Regions from separate parts of the Homo sapiens genome. Here region 2 is linked to region 1. The links are contacts of gene promoters, found by promoter capture Hi-C in human tissues and cell types (Jung and others, 2019). All regions are on one chromosome and are shown on one strand. The core of a region is centred on a gene start or on the middle of the fragment in contact, and the rest is flanking DNA. Distances in the headings are between cores, read along the strand shown. Region 1 holds the start of NFATC4 (nuclear factor of activated T cells 4). Region 2 overlaps KHNYN (KH and NYN domain containing).

Region 1 (3,594 bases), core at 425-2,924:
CTGGAAGGGAAATGTAACCTGAGGAGACCAACCAAAGGAAAAAAAAGAAAAAAAAAAGAAAAAAAAAAAAAAGAAAGAAGAAAATCAAACCAGGCCGCTTCCCCGCTCGGCCTCGGAACATTCTTCTCTCCCCGCCGGCCTGGGCTCTTCTCCCCGCCCCTCCTGTGTTGCGGCCCTGGGCTCGGAGCCGGGGCAGCTCCGCACGTCACTGGGGTCCCCGGGGACTGGGGGGGTGGTCCCCTGGGCGGGCCCGAGGGAGGACCGAGGGGAGGGAGGGAAGCCGCCTCGGCCGCTGCGGAGCTCCGGCCCGTCGGGCCAGCCCTCCCTTCTTTCCCCAGTCCCGTAGAGCCTGTTTCTCATTAGAGTAACGGGCGCGGTCCCCGCCCGGCTTCTGAGTGTTTGTAAACGTCTGACCTGGGGCCGTCGCTTAACCGTTTAGTTGCTGGGATGGGGCGGCGTTGGGGGTGCGGCCCTGAACCGGAGGGATTTAGAGACTGGAGACGCGGCCTCTAAGAGAGGTTGAAACTGTGTGTGTGTGGGAGAAAATGATAACCACCCTCCCATCTCTCCTACCCGCCAGCCTCGCCAGTATCTCCCACCGAGTCACGAATCTCCCATCTAACTCCCTCTCACACAACCCAGGCCTCTCCAAGCCTGACTTTCCCGGAAACTCCAGTCCAGGTCTTCCTTCCTCCTCCAGCCCAGGTGACAGGTGTCCAGCCTGTTGGGGGCGGGGGGGCCAAGGAGGGGGAAGAGGAGGGGAACCCACAGGGTCCGGAGGTTTCAGGCCCCTAGTAAACCTGGCAAGGATTTTTAGAAGAGCCGGAGTGGGATGCTATCGGGTCAGAGATTCATTCCAGACTACAGTTCTAGGGAGGAGGCTGCCAACTTCCCGTGGAGGCTAATTCACGGCCCCTCTGGGTGGCTGGGACAAGGGCAGCGGCAAAGCCTGGCCTGGATCTACGCCCATCAAGGGCTGTGGGCCTAGGGACAGTTCTCAAAGCCTCTTTGGCTCGGACTGCTCCCAGAGGCATCCAGGCTGGCTAAGCGTTCTTCATCTTTGGGGGTCCTGGAGGAATGGCTGATGGAGGCGCTGATTCGGCAGCGCAAAGACTTCCAGAAGGCCCGGGCAGAGTAGCCCCAGGCAAGGGAGGCGGAAGAATAGCCTTTTCCTCTTCCGAGCAACTCGGTGCCACTCTGCCCCCAGGACCCTCCTGGCCTCAGGCTTGGAGGGAAAGGGGAGGAGAAGTGGTTCTGCCTTGCTAGGTGCTATCTACACAGTCTTCAGAATTTAAAAAAGGGTCTTCCGTGGGCTCTCTACCCTGGGGGCCCAGGATGTGGCCCCTTTAAGGCTCTCGGACCCAGAACCTTGAACTGAGACTAGGGGAGGTGGGGGCTGGGCTCTCTGCGGGAAATGATTGTCACAACGGCGGACCAATAGGCAACATTAGTATCACTCTTGAAGGACCGTTTTCCAATTCAGTTTTTTTTTTTTTGAGGGGGAGGGACTGAAGAGAGGACAGAGGGAGGGAGGGTGGGGGAGGACGAGGGGCGCGTGGTTTTCCCATCTCATCCCTGGAGGAGGGGCTGGAGCATCCCCGGCAGCCAATCAGGGACAGGCTGGGGGGGGGACCGCTTTGAAGAAGTTTGGGGGAAAAAAGTTTGGAAAAGTTTCTATAATAACGAGGGGGCTTCTGGAGGGAGGCGGCAGCGACGGAGGAGGGGGCTTCTCAGAGAAAGGGAGGGAGGGAGCCACCCGGGTGAAGATACAGCAGCCTCCTGAACTCCCCCCTCCCACCCAGGCCGGGACCTGGGGGCTCCTGCCGGATCCATGGGGGCGGCCAGCTGCGAGGATGAGGAGCTGGAATTTAAGCTGGTGTTCGGGGAGGAAAAGGAGGCCCCCCCGCTGGGCGCGGGGGGATTGGGGGAAGGTTAGTGCTGGGCTGGGAAGGGGTCTTGGGGTCAGTGAGAGGAGGGCCGGGGATCCTGAGTCTGGGGAATTTAAGGCAGCGAGCCTAGGGTGGGGGGTGAGGGAGTCAGAGGTCGAAGGGAGTCGGGGGGACTCGTTGGCCTGCGGAAGTGAGGCTGGGGGCCCGGGCACCACTTTCTCCTTTTTAGGTCGTGACTGGGGTGGGGGTGGGGGTGCTGTTGGCTGTGCGCCGCCTCCCGGCTGGGCCGCCTGTCACTGAACTGGGGGGCGGGCGGGAACTACGGCCCCAACAGCACCAGGCGCCGCCAGGGGAAGGGGAGGTTTGGCGCTGGAGCTGGCCCCTGGCGGACCGAGCTCTGGCCCGGCCGACTGGACGCCCGGGGCTGGGGGCGCTGTCAGGCCTCGCTGGGGCGCCCCTCCCCCTCCCCCGTCTGGCCGCAATGAGAGGCAGATGGCGGGGACCGAGCCGGGGGCGGCGGCCGCCGCTCGCACGAATCCGCGCTGCCCGCTGCCCCCCTTCCCCCGGCTGGGCCCAGCACGCATCACCCCCTCGGCTGCACCTCCGCCCCTAGATGGCGAGGAGAGAGGGAGGAGCCACCTCCCCTCGTCACCACAGCCCTGACGCCCCCCTCCCCTCTGGCCACGGTTGCGATGGCAACTGGGGCTCCTGCCAGCGCCGTTTGGGGGTTTGGGAACCGCTGCTAATTGGGTTCATGTGTGAGTCGCCCCCAGTCCAGCCCAGTGCCTCAAGAAACACGCCTCCAGGCCCAGCCCCAGCTCCAGCCCCTCTGGACCCACCTCTCTCACCTTAAGACCCACTGGATCGGGTACCCTCGGTCCTAGGATCCAGGGGCCAGTGGGCAAAGGCCTGGCATGCCTGCTTCAATCTCCTCCATCTTCCCAGGTCCAACTCTGCTTTTGTCTTGTGGCTCAGAAGGTCTCTTTGCTGAGGGGCAGGGAGCATAGAAGGACTTGCGGCCTGGCCACTCAAGGAACATAGCCATCTCACCTGCTTCTCTCTTTCCCCCTCTCCCTCTGCTCCTCTTCCCATTTTGACAGAACTGGACTCAGAGGATGCCCCGCCATGCTGCCGTCTGGCCTTGGGAGAGCCCCCTCCCTATGGCGCTGCACCTATCGGTATTCCCCGACCTCCACCCCCTCGGCCTGGCATGCATTCGCCACCGCCGCGACCAGCCCCCTCACCTGGCACCTGGGAGAGCCAGCCCGCCAGGTCGGTGAGGCTGGGAGGACCAGGAGGGGGTGCTGGGGGTGCTGGGGGTGGCCGTGTTCTCGAGTGTCCCAGCATCCGCATCACCTCCATCTCTCCCACGCCGGAGCCGCCAGCAGCGCTGGAGGACAACCCTGATGCCTGGGGGGACGGCTCTCCTAGAGATTACCCCCCACCAGAAGGCTTTGGGGGCTACAGAGAAGCAGGGGGCCAGGGTGGGGGGGCCTTCTTCAGCCCAAGCCCTGGCAGCAGCAGCCTGTCCTCGTGGAGCTTCTTCTCCGATGCCTCTGACGAGGCAGCCCTGTATGCAGCCTGCGACGAGGTGGAGTCTGAGCTAAATGAGGCGGCCTCCCGCTTTGGCCTGGGCTCCCCGCTGCCCTCGCCCCGGGCCTCCCCTCGGCCATGGACCCCCGAAGATCCCTGGAGCCTGTATGGT
Region 2 (3,730 bases), core at 681-3,180, 68 kb after region 1:
AGCTGCCAGATGGTTTGAATGAAAATACAAGGCACACTTCTACCATAGTCTGCCTAGGTGGTGTGAGAAATGAGCAGATTTTAGAAAGCCAAGTTAAAAAATTTACAAGTTCTTTATTCTCTAGGACATTATACAGTTTTTAAAAATTAGTTTTTCCAAACCATAGTGATTATATACTTTGTCTTTTCAAACACTTACCTTCTATTCCTTAACAAGCAAATGGTATTCTACAAAAAAGCAGTTTACGTTCTCCCAATGTTATTCTATTTATATCTAGATGTCACAGATTACCCAAGATATGGAATCTTCTTTCCACACCTGCATTGAAACAGAATTGAAACTGAAGATTGAGTTCGTTTTAATGAATGTTAAAGGCATGTGTCTGCCCAGTTGTGTGGGACCTGGTTGGCAGATAACATAATATAAATTGGGAATTCGCCCAGTAACAGTGAATAAGCACAGTGGTACACAGCGTAGGCATACGGAATGAATGTTGCTGAACAACATACTGTGTAATGCGATCATAGTAAAATATGCTTAACTGGAAAATACCATTTGCATACCATAAGTGTACCATATAATTTTTTTTTGGTTTGTTTTTGAGACGGAGCCTTGCTCTGTCGCCACGCTGGAGTGCAGTGGCACGATCTCGGCTCACTGCAACCTCTGCCTCCCAGGTTCAAGTGATTCCCTTACCTCAGCCTCCCGAGTAGCTGGGACTTCAGGTGCATGCCACCGTGCCCAGCTAACTTTTTGCATTTTAGTAGAGATGGGGTTTCACCATGTTGGCCAGGGTGGTCTTGATTTCCTGACCTCATGATCCGCCCACCTCAGCCTCCCAAAGTGCTGGGATTACAGGCGTGAGCCACCAAGCCCGGCCATAGACATTTGTATGTCATTCCCTTAATTTGTTTCCCAGACAGAAGCTCAGAGCCTGATATCTGTCACACCTAATCCTGACTCCCAGTTCCCCCTATACCACACTATCTTTCAAATACTGACTGCTCACTTAGTACTAGGTGCATGGCCTGCAGGAGGAGGTGGGAACACTGGGAACAAGATCTGATTCTTGACTAGAGAGCCGAAAGAAACCATAAATCAAACACTACAGGAACTCAGAGGGAAAGGAGCCCCATTCTGGCTGGGGTTTTGTGGGAAAGGAGAGATTTGTGAGTTTTTGTGTTGAGAAGACTGGGATGGGTTGGATCTCTGTTTCTAAATCTGTTAAAAAGACCACCACCCATCACTTCATGAGTCCTACCCTGTCTTGTGGAATCAGAATTACTGAATGGAGCCCAGGCATTTTTTAAAAAAGTTCCCTTGGTAATTCTGTTCCTTAGCAAGTCTTGGGAAGTGCCTTCCAGATAGAGGAAATAGTTGGAGAAATATGGAAGTCAGCATAAGACATATGTGGAGAGCAGAGTGTAATCTGATTATTGATTTTAGCTGGAGTTGAGAGTGGGTTAGGGAATATTGGGAGAGATAAGGCTGTAAGGGTGATTTGAGCTGGCCTGTAGAAGGCCTTAGCTGCCAGGCCTGGGTGTGTGGACTTTATTTGGTAAATAAAGGGCAAGTGTGGAAGAGTTTTGTGTAGGTGATAAGCATGCTTTCTTGGGGCAGGGCAGGGGAGACTGGAGGGTGGGTGAGTGGTCAGAGGCGGGGACCCCCTTGTTAGGAGGTTATGCATAATCTCAGTTGCAATATCTGAATTACTGGGGTGGTAATGGTGGGCCTGGGAAGGAAGGGAGCAGAGCACAAGGCTTTTCAAAGGAAAGGCATGTTGGATTTGCAAGGGATTGGTTGGGCAGGGTGGAAGACAGAGCTAGATCTTACTGTTTACTAACGAGGCACAAAGTGTTGGGTGAAGGACTATGGTTGGCAGATAGGATGCTACTGGGAGACCACCTTGGATTCATCTTTGTTTCCTCTCTAGGCCATGGCACTTGCATCTAGTCAGTTGCCTGTAGCTGGGTCAAGGTGAGGTAGGGGGCCAGATCTCCATCACCAGAAGTGGCCTATGGGAGACAGTAAAACTTCTGGGGTTGGGGCCTTGGAGAGTCCCAAATGGTTGCTGTGGTTTTTACTTTTATTTTTGTAGATTTGGGGGATACCAATACAGTTTTGCTACATAGATATATTGCATAGTGGTGAAGTCTAGGCTTTTAATGTAACCATGATCCAAACAGTGAACATTGTACCCAGTAGGTAATTTTTCAACCCTCTCTCGGTTGCTGTGGTTTTGGAGACAGGTTCATGGTGAAGCTGGCTGAAGAGACAGATGGGATAATTGTCTCCAATGACCAGTTCCGGGACCTGGCGGAGGAGTCTGAGAAGTGGATGGCAATCATCAGAGAACGGTGAGGGAGCCCTCCCGCTGAGAACTGGGCACAGATGCAGATGTTTTTCTAAAGCCAGCTCTGCTCTGGCCATGGGGTGAAAACTCTGGGAAGGAGGTGAAGTTTTCTTGAAGGATGGAGCCAGCAGCTTCTGGTGATACTGGTCTCGGTTGTCTGGGAGGTGGGCAAGGGCCCCCTCTGTGACCACACATTATCTTTCGCCATCCAGCCTGCTGCCCTTTACCTTTGTGGGAAACCTCTTCATGGTACCTGATGACCCACTGGGGCGAAACGGCCCCACCCTGGATGAATTTCTGAAGAAGCCAGCCAGGTAATCAATCCCCTAGACTACTTACAGGCAGCCCCCACCCCTGGCCCTCTCTCAGCAGGCCCAGAGACTTGGGTGGAAGTGTGACCTCAGTTTGGGCCAGCTTAATTTTGCAGTGGTTTGAGTTGCATTGGCCTTGGCCTTTATAAGCTTCCCAGGGGATCCTGACATAGAACCTCCTTGCTGGGAGGGAAACACCTGCTTCCTGTTTCTCTTAATCAGCATGTTTGATGGAGTTATTTGGAAAATGGTTGCTTATACTGACAGCCAGTTGTATTCAGCATGCCTTCTGCTGACCATTACATAAGTGATTCATTTAGGACTAGAACTAGATCATAATAGTGGCAGAGTTCACCCTGTTTCTAAAAGAACGGCCCATCTTCCCTTCAGAAGTGGGTTGATACTGCCACTCAGTGGTCAGCTTCAGGAACTTCAGGATTTCTCCCCCAAAGCCAGGAATAGGCAGGACAATTACGAGAGGGGTGCCCACTAAGATCTAATTTCCCCCCCAGGATGCTCATCAGCTCTTTTTGGTCTGTTTCTTCCCAGGACACAGGGGTCTTCTAAGGCTCAGCATCCTTCCAGGGGCTTTGCAGAACATGGTAAACAGCAGCAGGGGAGAGAAGAGGAAAAAGGTAGTGGTGGCATTCGGAAGACCCGGGAAACAGAGCGGCTCCGGCGGCAGCTGCTGGAGGTGTTTTGGGGTCAGGATCACAAAGTGGACTTCATCCTGCAGCGGGAGCCATACTGCCGGGACATCAACCAACTGTCTGAGGCCCTGCTCAGTCTTAACTTTTGAGCCTCACCTGCTTGAGTGGCTGCCGCCCTGTCAGCTCCAGCCGCCTCCAGCTCAGCCCTTTCTGTGAGAGTCCCTCTGCTGCTCACTCTGATCCAGAGGCACCCTGAGTTGGTGCTTTGGATCAGGGAAGCCACTTTGGGACAGGTCCATAAAGTGAACTGATCTTACCGAGTCAGGACCTCAGCCAGCTCTCAAGAGGTTCTGCTCAGCCTTAACTTCTCAACTTTGCCTTAGCACAGGGTTTCTGTAGGGAGTGGGGGCTGCTAG

The links. Contacts are between HindIII fragments. The study calls those that stand out against the background at their distance.
Region 2: a contact is called between a fragment that was not itself captured here and the fragment with the promoter of NFATC4 in region 1, in 11 of the 25 tissues and cell types used here (H1 embryonic stem cells, IMR-90 fibroblasts, aorta and 8 more).

Annotation. Positions count from the first base shown.
Region 1 is chr14:24,366,510-24,370,103 of GRCh38, forward strand. It overlaps NFATC4 (nuclear factor of activated T cells 4), which reads left to right and starts at 1,675. Exons shown (of 10, transcript NM_004554.5): 1 at 1,675-1,931; 2 at 2,990-3,594. The coding sequence starts at 1,832. LOC124903291 (a long non-coding RNA gene) reads right to left here and starts at 2,876. Exons shown (of 2, transcript XR_007064085.1): 1 at 2,738-2,876; 2 at 1-18. RefSeq lists silencers at 106-415, 2,134-2,513 and an enhancer at 3,476-3,594. The HindIII fragment of the contact is 13,574 bases long and covers 1-3,355 here.
Region 2 is chr14:24,433,823-24,437,552 of GRCh38, forward strand. KHNYN (KH and NYN domain containing) reads left to right here. Exons shown (of 8, transcript NM_015299.3): 6 at 2,250-2,357; 7 at 2,566-2,667; 8 at 3,214-3,730. The coding sequence ends at 3,463. Among named protein-coding and RNA genes, the nearest start is that of KHNYN, 5.7 kb to the left of the region's middle. The HindIII fragment of the contact is 4,482 bases long and covers 1-3,730 here.